Regions from separate parts of the Homo sapiens genome. Here all the other regions are linked to region 2. The links are contacts of gene promoters, found by promoter capture Hi-C in blood cells and fetal thymus (Javierre and others, 2016). All regions are on one chromosome and are shown on one strand. The core of a region is centred on a gene start or on the middle of the fragment in contact, and the rest is flanking DNA. Distances in the headings are between cores, read along the strand shown.

Region 1 (4,209 bases), core at 1,371-3,870, 160 kb after region 2:
GCAATTACTTTTCAATTACTTCTGCACCAACCTGATATTTTCATAATAACCTGATAAGGTAGTTATTGTTCTTCTTTTACACATCAGGTCAAGGAAAGAAAGGAATTTGCTTGTGGTCATACAGCTAATAAGTGTAAACTTGAGATTCAAGCCCAGTTTTTCTGATTGTAAGTCCAACATTCAATTTTTGCTCTGATATGAAGCCATGTAACTTAGCAATATGTATTATTTAGGACTCTTTGAAAATTCACACTCTTTAACCCCAACTTCTTTTTTTTTTTTTTTTTGAGATGGAGTCTCACTCTGTCACCCAGGCTGGAGCACAGTGGCGTGATCTCGGCTCACTGCAACCTCTGCCTCCTGGGTTCATGCCCTTCTCCTGCCTCAGCCTCCTGAGTAGCTGGGACTACAGGCACCCGCCACCACACCCAGCTAATATTTTTATATATTTAGTAGAGACGGGGTTTCACCATGTTAGCCAGGATGATCTCGATCTCCTGACCTCGTGATCCACCCACCTTGGCCTCCCAAAGTGCTGGGATTACAGGCGTGAGCCACCGCGCCCGGCTTTTGACCCCAACTTCTACTTGTATTTATTATAAAGAAATAATCAGAGACAATCATAAATATGTATGCATAAATAACACAACAGCGTTATTTATAATTGCAAAATTACAAAACCACTTAAATGACAATAGCAAAAATGTTTAAATAACTTCATCATCTGTATAATATTATACAAACATATTTTTGAAGATACAGCATGGCACTTGATGTGAGAAAATAACTAAACTGCAATAAATGGAAAAACACAGAATATAAAACTGTATATATAACCTCAATTTTATCCAAAATAAAAATTAAAAATGTTTACATATACATAAAATAATTGTAAGTGAATGAAACATGCTAACTTGAAGTCATCTCTTCATGGTTTTTCTTAAATTTTTCTATATTTTCCAAATTCTCATCTATGAGCTTCTGACTATTACAAAATAGAAACAACAAGTATACTATTTTAAAGAAAAATAATTCCTATCATTATTACAAATAAGCAGAGGTCAAAGTGGCTCAAGTCCAAAGGGCTGCTTAGAGCAAACACCTGGTCCTTTGCTACTTTACTCTCCAGCGCAAGGAGCGAGAGAGGCAGTGGCAGAGCATACAGATCTAGCTAATTCACTGTGTGACCTTGGACAAGTCACATTACCTCTGTGGGCCTCAGAGGGCTTTTCTGCAAAATGAACAGCCTGGATCAGTGAGCCGTGCCCTAGCAGAGCACAGCCTCCTGCCGTGGCTTCTGGGTAGAATTGCCTTTCATTGTGCAATTAAATCTGGCCTTCCCTCATGACGGGAGAGAAAAATATTTATGAATTACTCTCTAGTTTAGAAATGGATCTCTGTCTGGGAACAAAGGAACACAAGCCCCACTGGCAAATTAGAGTCCATTATCAGCTACTATAGCAGCAAGCTCAGCCTGGTGGTAATTGTATCTGCAATAATAAGGCTGTGAGGGCGACTCTAGGCCATTTGCTACCTGCATCAATCATCATTACAGTCTAGCACAGAGGGGATGCGGAAATGAGCCCATGTTATCAATGGCCAATTAGAACAAAGATCCATCCAGAAGCTCTTGGGAACCTGGCCAGGGCCAGCAGAGGGGGTGGATGAGGCGCACAGAACAACAGGTGGCCTGGGTCAGTCAGCTCGCTGATGTCACCGAGGAAGATCACCCTGAGACGCTGGCCTGCAACTCTGTTTAGAATCCCTAGTGACCTCAAATGATGTCAATTCTGCTTGGCTATGTGAACCCAAAATATCTGAAACAGGTCTCAGTCAACTTAGAAAGTTTATTTTGACAAGATTAAGGACACGCCCGTGGCATAGCCTCAGGACGTCCTGAGGACACGTAGGCAAAGTGGTCGGCACAAAGCTTGATTTGATACATTTTAGGGAGACATGAGACATCAATCAATATATGTAAGATGTACATTAGTTTGGTCTGGAAAGTCAGGACAACTCAAAGTGGGGAGGGGGCTTCAGGTCACAGGTAGAAAAGAAACAAACAGTGGCATTCTTTAATTGTGTGCATTTGTCTCATGTGAGCAAGGGAATGACTTTGAGTTCTGTCTTTTGTCCTTTAGTCCACAAGGAATTTCCTTGTGGGCAAATTGTGAGAGAGGTGTGTAGCTTTTTTTATTTTTGTAGCAACCTTACGTAGGAATAGAATGGGAGGCAGGTTTGCCAGTTCCCAGCTTGACTTTTCCCTTTGGCTTAGTGATTTGGGGTCCCCAATTATTTTCCTTTCACAGCGATGATATGCCAATTTCATGTAAATAACTGTGTATATTCCCTATTGATGGCACCTTTGGATCTACCCTGTGTATCACTGTTCTAGGACTGCCATAACAAATTATGCAAATGTGATGCCTTTAAACAACAGAAATTTATTCTCTTACAGGCCTGGAGACTAGAGGTCAGAAATCAAGGTGCAGTGGGCCCATACATACTTCCACTGAAGGCTCTAAGAATCCTTCCTTGCCTCCTCCAGCTGCTGGTGGCCACAGGCGTTCCTCAGGCTGTGGAAACATAACTGCAGTCTCTGCCTCCATCTTCATAGGGCCTTCTCCTCTGTCTCTGTGTGTTCCCTCCTCTTCCTGTAGGGATACCAGCCATTGGATTCGGGTCCACCCTGACCCAGTATGACTGCCTCTTCATTTGATGACATATGCAAAGTCTCTATTTCCACTAAGGTCACATTCTGAGGTTTCAGAGTAGACATGAAATTTGGGGGACACTACTCAAGTCACCACACCCTGATGTAGGACACTGTTAGATTTTCATCGGTTATCTTTTGCCTAAGTCTTATCCATGATAGTAGATGGGGTAATAATAGCTAATATTAAAATAGCACATACCACATGCCAGGCAAATTCTAATCTCTTCGCATATATTAATTCATTTTATTCTCACTATGAGGAAGTACTATTTTTGTCTTCATTCTTCAAAGGGAGAACAGAGACATAGAGAGATTAAGTAAAGTGTCCGAGATCACAGAGTAAGTGGCAGACCAAGCACTTCAGTTGAGCAATCCGGTTCTGAGCCTAGGTTCTTAACTATGCATCCTACCTCCTTAACGATGGACACAGCTAAACTAGACATCCTGACACAGGAGAAGAAATGCAGATGGCAAAACCCTTTTGGAAAGTAATTTGACAATCCATGTCAATAGTCTTGAAAACATCCATTCATGTTTTATCCAGTAATTATACTCTGGGGAGTTTTCCTTCGAAAAAAAAAAATCTGAATTGTATAAAGCTTCCATCCACAAAAACACTATAGCAGTATTGTTTATAAGAAAAAAGCTTACAAAACTAAGGGAAAAGATACTCTCAAACAAAAGATTACTTAAGTGAATAAGGTTATACCTATAGAATGAAGAATGTATCTCCATTAAAATAATATAGATAGTTTAGAGTAACAAAAGGAAATGCTTATGTTATAACATTAGGTGAAAACTGGAAAATAAGGTGGTCTATGTAAAATATTCTTGACTAGATTTTTAAACAACAGAAAAGAGAGAAATTACATTAACATGCTCACAGCAACTCTTTTAGAATAATTTTTTTCTTTCTCCTTTTTTAAAACCTTTTTGGATTTTTCAATTTCCATAATAAACATATTACTTTTGTAATTAGAAAAGAAATTATGAATATGGAAAATGTAAAGCAGAAGCAGTATTCTTACAGAAGGACTGAGGGGATAAGGGGAGGGGTAGTCAATTCTAGCCCTGGCCTTTACGTCAGAGATCTAAAATCCAAGACAGGCCATGGGAGATGCTCTCTTCTGGAAGCTCTAGCATTTGTTATTAAATTCTGAGACCATTGATTTGTCTTGTTTTTCAATCTGCTAAATTCTGGTTTTGACATTGATATATGCTATGCAAATATCTGTTGAATAAATAGGCAGCTGAGCTAAATAAGTGCACAGCATAAACAAATTAATGGAGAAGTGGAGGCATAGAGAGATTAAATAAATGGTTTCAATAGAAAATGTCTTTCTAATGGAAAAGTTTGAAGCCCCTTCCTTCTTGGTTTCTGAGACAATCCCACTAGGAATCTTGAGACTTGGTATCATTGACTTCACTTTGCAAGGCTGTAGATTAAGCTTTACCTCTTCAGCTATAAATGACGGAATCCCAAAAGAAGAAAA
Region 2 (3,982 bases), core at 1,241-3,740:
AGTGGAATATTCCAGCTAGAGAAAATTCTCTAAAGCATTGAGCAGTAGGGCTGGAAGAGGCCCTAGCTAATCCAGCACTCTGGTTTTGTAGAGGAAATAGTTGAGAGGCAGAAAGACAAAGCAACTTCTCTGAGGTTACAAGGTCAGTAAGGGGCAGAACTGGGACAAGGCTCTGGGTCTTCGGTGCTTTCACCACTTAAAAGAAAGCTTTTGCTTTCTTCCTTTATAAAACCAGAGATTGGCAGGGGGCTTCCTTTTGTGGGAACCCCAGTGGAGACAGAGGATGTTTACCTGCAGGGAAGAGGGGCCAGGGCCCGGCTGTGCCTGGACCCAGAGTGGTGGGGAAGGGGGGTATGCTCATACCTTGCAGGTTGACGCCCCGGGGCACCACGCCCTGAAGCTCCACTGTGGGCAGGTCATCTTCCGCTGCATTAGAGTTATTGGGTGGAACTGCTCTTCTGCCTCCAAAGGCGGTCCTGGAAGTTTCTGACATTTTTGACTTTACAAGGTCCTTCAGAAAAAAAAAAAAAAGAAGACAACAGAAAAGGCATGTAAAGTGAGTAACATTTGAGACAAGGATTCCAAAATAGAGAAACAGATATATCTGTGTGTGATAGCACTTGAGCAACACATTTTGCCGTTTGCATAAATAAAAACTGAGAAGTGGCAGCAAGGATTAGTCTAATGATGGAATACAGTTCCCCAAGGATCTTGGGGAGATTTTTGTATGTGTCAAAACATATGGAAAGCAGAAGAAAAGGGGCTTATTCAAAGAAATTTAAAAATTAAAAGATTTTTGGAGACCCAGATTCCCCCACCCTCCATAATCCTACAGCAGCATCTTCGCAAGAAATGTTTCCTGTTATATGCATGTGCTGTATCTATGTTCATTTCATACAGATTTATGAGATTATAAGTCACTTTTAAGAATAAACGCACACAACCATGTCCAGACAAATGTTGTCTTCTAAAGCGTTTACATTTGCAATTTAATTCAACCAATATTTATTGAGGGCCTATGACATGCCAGGCTGTGATCTAGGTACATGGGATACATCAGAGAACAAAACAGAATGTTTGCTCTGATAGATTATAGTCTGATAGGGTTAGGGTGGAGCCCAAGAAGAGCCATAAGTAAATCCACTTAGGGGTGAGGAGGTAGGAACTGCTTTGGAAATTGAGCCACATGGAGGAGGATAAGGAGGTGGAGAGGTTGGGCATGCAATTTTCAATAGGGCTATCAATAGGCTTAAGAAGTCAGGGTTGCCAACATTTCCCATTCCCCAAGCCTGCTTCCCCTTCCCTTGGAGCTTGTGCAGGCACTGAGCCAGTTTAAACAACACACACCTGACGGTCAGTGCCCAGTAAGTACTTGTTGACCAAATGACCAAATGAAGGGGGACTTTGTTTCTGGGCCCAGTGAAGGTTCCCCCTTGATCCCCTGGATTACCCAGTCATGACTCCTGGAGACTTGGCTATTTTCAAAAACCAGGCACACCCCCAAGAGGTGAAGAGTCCCCATTATAGAGGCCACCAGAGTAGAGAGATGGTTCCAGAGACATGTGGAGCACTAACAACATGCTGGAGAAAAGACAACCACGCCTAAGGTGTCTGGTCTGAGAAGGAGACAGGAGTGTTTGGATGCATAAGGTGTGAATGGGTATCCATAAGTATAGATAAATATATTTACAGTCATTGGTGAGCTGACGGGGGAAGGGAGGGAGAAGAGCGAAAAAGGGTTAATGATAGGGAGAAGGCTGCGAGAGCCATCCTCTAGTGAGAAATACCGAAGGTAGGCTGCGGCATTGCCAGGGGTGCAGAACAGTGTGGCGCGCTGTCGGGAGACACAGTGCTAAGGGGGAGAAGGGGGGAGCCCCAGGTGCACGCCTGGCTGGGTGAGTGCGGCGGGCAGGAGCCCTCGCTTCTGGGCGGGTCTAAGGAGGAGAAGTGGCTCGAGTTCAGCTCCAAATTGGGACGGAGGCAGGCGATGCGCAGGAGTGGGGAGGCGCGCAGGAGTGGGGAGCCAAGCCGGCGGGGTTCCAGTCTAGCAGGCTGTTCTCACTTGGCCCCACTCCCTCCACCTTTTGTGTTCCAGCTCCATAATCTGCTCCCTGAGGAAAGGGGGCTCGTCCCTTGGGGAAGCACCTCCAACTCCCCCATCCCCATTTGGTGGCATTCTAAGCAAGCAACGGCTTCGGGAGAGCTGCCTCGAGAGCCTGAGAGAAGTCCCGCTTAGAAGCTGGGCTGGGCAGGTGCGGAGTTGGGGGCGGGAAGCCAGGATTGGGCAAGTGGAGCTGCCTGTGACCGGCGCCACAGGGCCCAGAGCAAGCCGCTTGCTGGTTCAACCAGGAAACCGAGGTGCAGAAGGTGGACGCAGCGGGCCCTGGCTCATAGGGTGCAGGGTCGGTGGCTTACCTGCAGGCGCTCCCCTCCAGAGGTGCCCTCGCGTGGGCTTGCTCTGTGCGCCTCGGGGACTTCCTCAAACGGACTCGGGAAAGACAAGACAGTTGGCTCTTAAATAACTTCCTAAGAGGAGCCCTCACCCTCCTCCCCTGTCCCACAGGGTTTTCTCCTCCCCCTTCTCCACAGCTGGAGCCAGTAGGGGAGCTCAGAGGATTTTCTATTTACTTCATCTGGCCTGTTATCCCGGCAGGTGCGCCCTTCTCTCCCACTTGCCCCTCTGACTCCCAATTTCCCATTCCCACTTCTCCTCCCCATCCCCATCCCTAGATCTGCCCTCCCCACCGCAACCAGTTGCTGGGAGTACCAGGCAAGGGGCCCTGCAGTGCCAGGAAGTCCCCACCCGTCCCCTTTGGTCAGAGGGTCTGGGAGGGTTTCCTTTACAAAGGAATGCTTTTGCCTGGCAGGTCAGCTGCTACTGTGGCTTGGCAGGAGGGGGGTCTGCCCTCCCACAGACAGGTCACACAGACAGTTGTGACCATGCATGCAGTGAGAGCAACGTGTCCCTCCTGTGCAAATAAGGCATGGTCTGCATTCCTGAATCATCCCAGAGCCACAGCCACCGCCTAACCACAAGACTTCCTGCAGGAATGGGATGCCTAGCCCCAAGGAAGATGAGTAAACATCTTTAATAATGCCATGCAGATTAGAAAATAACACTTGGTTTTCTCTGAAAATCATTTTAGTGCATGTTCAAAAATTAGAAAATTTTCCCCCTAAAATTTTAATTTTTTTCTTTTACTCTTTCTTTCTTTCTTTCTTTCATCTTTCTATCTTTCAGATGAAGTCTTGCTCTGTTGCAAAGGCTGGAGTGCAACCTCCACCTCCCGGGTTCAAGTGATTCTTCTGCCTCAGCCTCCCAAGTAGCTGGAACTACAGGTGCATGCCACCATGCCCGCCTAATTTTTGTATTTTTAGTAGAGATGGGGCTTTACCATGTTGGCCAGGCTGGTCTCGAACTTCTGACCTCAGGTGATCCACCCTCCTTGGCTTCCCAAAGTGTTGGGATTACAGGCGTGAGCCACCGCACCCAGTCAAACATGGCTATTTCTAACCTTCTTTACTGTCTTCAAATTTCTGACCCTGCCACTCAATCTCCCAATGTTATAAAGAAGAAAAAAAAAGATGCCATTGGTTAGAAATTCTCTCAATTTTCTGCTACCAATCTATGAACCTGCCTGCAACCTTATCTATCTTTTCCTCTTTCTTCTTGTTACTGAAGTTGGAAAGGTCCCTCCTCCCTCTGCATCTCCAAACCAGGCTTCTGCGTTGCCTTGTTCTCCGGGGCTTTGCTGTGACTCTTACGTACTCTTCCTCTTGCAGCTTCAAGCTCCTGCTTGCTAATAGTGGGTCTTCTCAGCATTCATGCAATTTCAGGTCTCTTCAGTATTTTTTTAAAAACCTCCCCCAACCTATGTCCCCACTCCTGCTGTTACTCCTCCTCTCCTCCCCTTCATCACTAAGTATCTGCCATCTGGCTTCCGCCTCATCATTCTACTGAAAGTGGAGGTCACGGTCTCCA
Region 3 (4,096 bases), core at 707-3,206, 130 kb after region 2:
CCTAGCCCCATCTTGGACTGCTCAGGGCTTCCTGAGTTATCAGCAGAAGGATGGGTCCTCAAAGGGAAAATACGTCAATATTTGCTAATGTGGAAGGCAGGGCTCTCAACTAGCCAGATCTCATTTGAGTTGCAAAATATGAACATGGGTTTATATTTGCACAATGAGTTTTTGGAACAAGTCCTGCCAGTCACAGATTGTTTTTAAAATATAGGAGATGAAAGAAATCTCCTAAGCAGAAAGAAGAGAATAAAAAGAGAGCCTGAGGAATGCCATTATTTTAAAGTCAGGCAGAGAAGTACTTGTCAAAGGAGACAGAAAAGGCATTTCCACAGAGCAAGAAGGAAAAGCAAGAGTGTGCAGGTCACATAAGCTGAAGGACTTAAGATGGCAGAAAAGCTAACATATGGTTGAACTTTACCTGGAGCGTTTGCACCCTATCAAGAAGAAATAATTATTACACTCTGGCTATTGTACCCAGAATGTTCTGTGACCAGTGCTATTGTAGAGATGTGGATGTCTATGGCAAGTTCCAGCAGTTAAAGAGTCTATCAGGACTCATGCCATCAGCCACAGAAACACATTTCTGCTATCCTTGGATAACCAGGAGAGAACAGGCTTGGAAATGTGCAGCTGAGAGAGCTCTCATGGGCTGGACAAGCCACCACAGCCAAGGTCTTCTAGCAGGAACCCTATTGCTGTCCCCTCACTGAATATGCCTCCAGCCAGCCTGTGTGTTCCCTCATTCATTGAAAGTAAATGTGCCCAGAGGGGCACCTGCATGCCCAAGCTTGAATCACATGCCTACCTTGGGGTGCACTTAGATGGGGAAACACAGGATGTGGGATTCTCAGTTGCAGGGATATTTTACTTAAAACTTGAAACTATTAATGTAATTCCTGCATCCCTCAGTACAGGCAGAGAGGAGAGCAAGTGTGTCCTGGACCTACCTAGCTATAACTATGGCTTTGTGTGTGTTCATGTGCCACATGTGGCCAGGTGGTGGGCTCCAGCACACCACACAGATGAGGGGAGCCCTCCTGAACACTGGGCTATGTCTTCTGACTGACCCAGAAGCTGGTGGGAACAAGCTGTTTTGGCTCCCTTCTCCCCCTCCCTGCTATCCTGCCTCCCCACTTTTTACCACCCACCCCTGTCCCCTAACCACCACCAGCATTCAGTGATAGTCCTGGCAAGATTGCAGTTCCTGTGCAATCTCTCTGTGGACACCTCTCAGGCTGTAGGCACTGTGCCTCTTGGAAACTGGTAAATTTGCAGGGGAAGGGAAGTTCCTAACCTCACTTTGCCTGGAAATGCCATGCCTTCTCTACCCTGTTATTTGTTTTCCTTCTGTTCTAGTCACTAGGAACAGATCAGAAAGTTGGCTGGTGACACAGATAGCCTCGGAGGGAGAGGGAGGGGTGGCTGGAATGCTCCCTTGGCTTTGGAAAGCCTGTCCCTTTCTCCCAATTGGGTGGTGACTGGAACAAATGACACTCCCTCCCAAACACTGCATTTCCCCCAAAGGTGCTCCTCCCTTCTCCCAATCAGCGAGGATAGGATGTAGGGAGGGAATGGGGGTGGTGGGGGAATTCTCTGAACTGATACCTCTCAGCAGGCTCTGAAAGGTGGAAGCTGGGCCTGACCCCTGGGGGTCCAGGGTGACGCAGGGGAGCAGTTTGCTCTGCGGCAAGCAATTGTTAGAACTGAGACTTTGGTGGAAGTCACATGGGGATGATAAGGAGATGGGCTTTCAGTTGGTTTTGTTATTATATTTAAGCATTCTACAGACTGTGTGGCTCCTTGTTGTCTGCAGCCCAGAGTGGACTGCTCCCACCTCCCCACCTTTGGGACAGCATGGATAACAACTGACAGGCAGTTGCCGGACCTTAGGATGAGAACAATTAATGTGGTCACGGATAAGTTTCCAGGGTACCAAGAAAAAAATCAACATTGAAATCCTACCTGATTTTCCTAATATCCTGGAAATTTATCCATCACCACAAACATGGTTCTCATCCTAAGGTCAGACAACTATCTAGTGATGTCCCAAAGGTGGGGAGGTGAGAGCAGGAAGTGGGGGAATTGGATGATGGACAACCGGCGGGCAGGGGGAAGGAACGAATTTCCACTGCGATGAGTTTATAAGTATTAGAGAGAAGCATGTGTGTGTACAAATATTTTTTATGTGTACTTGTAATGTCCCACACATATACCCACTAGGAACCAAGGTTGCTTATACAGGCAGGGGAAGTAGACAAGCTCTTACTGGAGCAGTTTGAAGGGTGTCTCAGATATCTCCCCGTTGCCAGTTTTCACCGGTTGTGGATATCTAACTTTAGAAATTCATTCCTTTGTGAACCTGACCTTCAAGCCATTCTTTCCTTAGGTTTCCTCCTGAAAAACCTCAGCTAAAATATTTTCCTACTTCTCTGAATTTCCACATGCTTTATCTAAGGGCAGAAATCTCACAAAGTTAACCTTGTTGTATCCACAGCACCAAATGCAGTGCCTGACATACACTAGGTGGTCAACAAACAGATACTGAGTGAATTAAAATAGAATCATATCTGGGAATCCTAGAAAGCTAAGTCACTGGTATGTCAAGGGCATTCGGGCTAGTTTCCTCCTCAGAGGAAAGACAGAGGCAGCCTGAGAATCCCAGGTTGCTTTGGGCTATTAGAATGTTAACAAAGCATTGAAAAGAACTCACTAAAGTGACAGCATCAAAATGATGACATCAGAACATCTTGTACCCATTCCTGCTTCATCAAGTAACCTCAGGCTAGTCACGTAATTTCTCTGATGTCAATTTTTTTTATCTACAAGTTATCACGAGTGGATTAAACATTTTCTAAGATCCTTTTTCTCTTGGTTCTCTTCCCTGCTAGAGAGAAGGGAAAATACTTTGGTTATTATTTACTTGTCATCAAGTTTTGTCTCTTTCTACATACATCACATTGATGCTATTACTCTACTCCTTAAAATGTCTGTATCTGTAATTATCCGCCAATTACCTACCAGATCACGTCCAAACTCCATCTACAAACATTCATTCAAGACCTCCCCACCCCATCGACACTTTATCTTTTTCAGCCTTATTTCTCACCATTCCCCTATCCTAAGCTTCCCTTGCAGTCAAAATTGATCTATTTCTGGTCCACTAAATAGTTTATAAATTTTAAAAATTTTGTCCCTTTACTCAAATGCTTCTTTCTACATACGTGATAGTTCATTTCAGGTGTCACCTTGACTGGATTAAGGGACACCCAGATAGCAGGTTAAACATTATTTCCAGGCATTTCTGGAAGAGATTAGCATTTGAAGCAGTGGACTGAGCAAAAACGATCAGCCCTCACCAACGTGGGTGGACATCATCCAATCTGCTGAGGGCCCACATAGAACAACAAGGTGGAGGAAGGACAAATTTGCTCTCTGTCTTCTGCAGATACAACGCTCATCTTTTCCTGCCTTTGGACATCAGAACTCCAGGTTCTCCAGCATTTGGGCTACAAGACTTTTACCAGCACCTCCACCTGCCCTCAGACTGAGAGTCACAGCCTTGGCTCCCTGGTTCTCCAGCTTGCAGACAGCCTATCATGGGACTTCTCAGCCTCCATAACCATGGGAGCCAGTTCCCATGATAAATCCCCTCATATATCTTTATCTATCTATCTATTATCTATCTATCTATCTATCTATCTATCTATCTATCTATCTATCTATCCATCCATCCATCCTATTGATTCTGTTTCTCTGAAGAACTCTGACTAATACAACATACAATTCTCAAATCCTCCCATCTTACTTTGAAGTCCTCTCCATTCTTCCAAACAAAGCTCAAATGTAACTTCCCCCAGAAAGCCTTCTACAGCCAGAAGTGACAGTTTTTCCTTTAAATTCTTATAGAACCTCTTATTTCCTTTTTTTAAATAAGAATCTTTTTTTTCTTTACTTTAAGTTCTGGGATACATGTGCAGAAGGTTCAGGTTTGTTACATAGGTATACATGTGCCATGGTGGTTTACTGCACCTATCAATTCATTATCTAGGTTTTAAGCCCCTCATGCATTAACTATTTGTCCTAATACTCTCCC

What was found. Contacts are between HindIII fragments. The CHiCAGO score rates a contact against its expected background, and 5 or more counts as called.
Region 1: a fragment that was not itself captured here is called in contact with the fragment with the promoter of F13A1 in region 2 in 4 of 17 cell types (megakaryocytes, M2 macrophages, M1 macrophages and 1 more); the score reaches 11.5 in megakaryocytes.
Region 3: a contact is called between a fragment that was not itself captured here and the fragment with the promoter of F13A1 in region 2, in 1 of 17 cell types (megakaryocytes). The highest score is 6.2, in megakaryocytes.

Annotation. Positions count from the first base shown.
Region 1 is chr6:6,473,105-6,477,313 of GRCh38, forward strand. All of the region lies in intron 3 of LY86-AS1 (LY86 antisense RNA 1), which reads right to left. Among named protein-coding and RNA genes, the nearest start is that of LY86, 110 kb to the right of the region's middle. The HindIII fragment of the contact is 1,385 bases long and covers 1,929-3,313 here.
Region 2 is chr6:6,318,172-6,322,153 of GRCh38, forward strand. F13A1 (coagulation factor XIII A chain) reads right to left here and starts at 2,491. Exons shown (of 15, transcript NM_000129.4): 1 at 2,416-2,491; 2 at 364-511. The coding sequence starts at 493. The region is part of intron 1 of LOC124901253 (a long non-coding RNA gene); the gene reads left to right. The HindIII fragment of the contact is 4,604 bases long and covers 206-3,982 here.
Region 3 is chr6:6,450,815-6,454,910 of GRCh38, forward strand. All of the region lies in intron 3 of LY86-AS1 (LY86 antisense RNA 1), which reads right to left. Among named protein-coding and RNA genes, the nearest start is that of F13A1, 130 kb to the left of the region's middle. The HindIII fragment of the contact is 2,336 bases long and covers 789-3,124 here.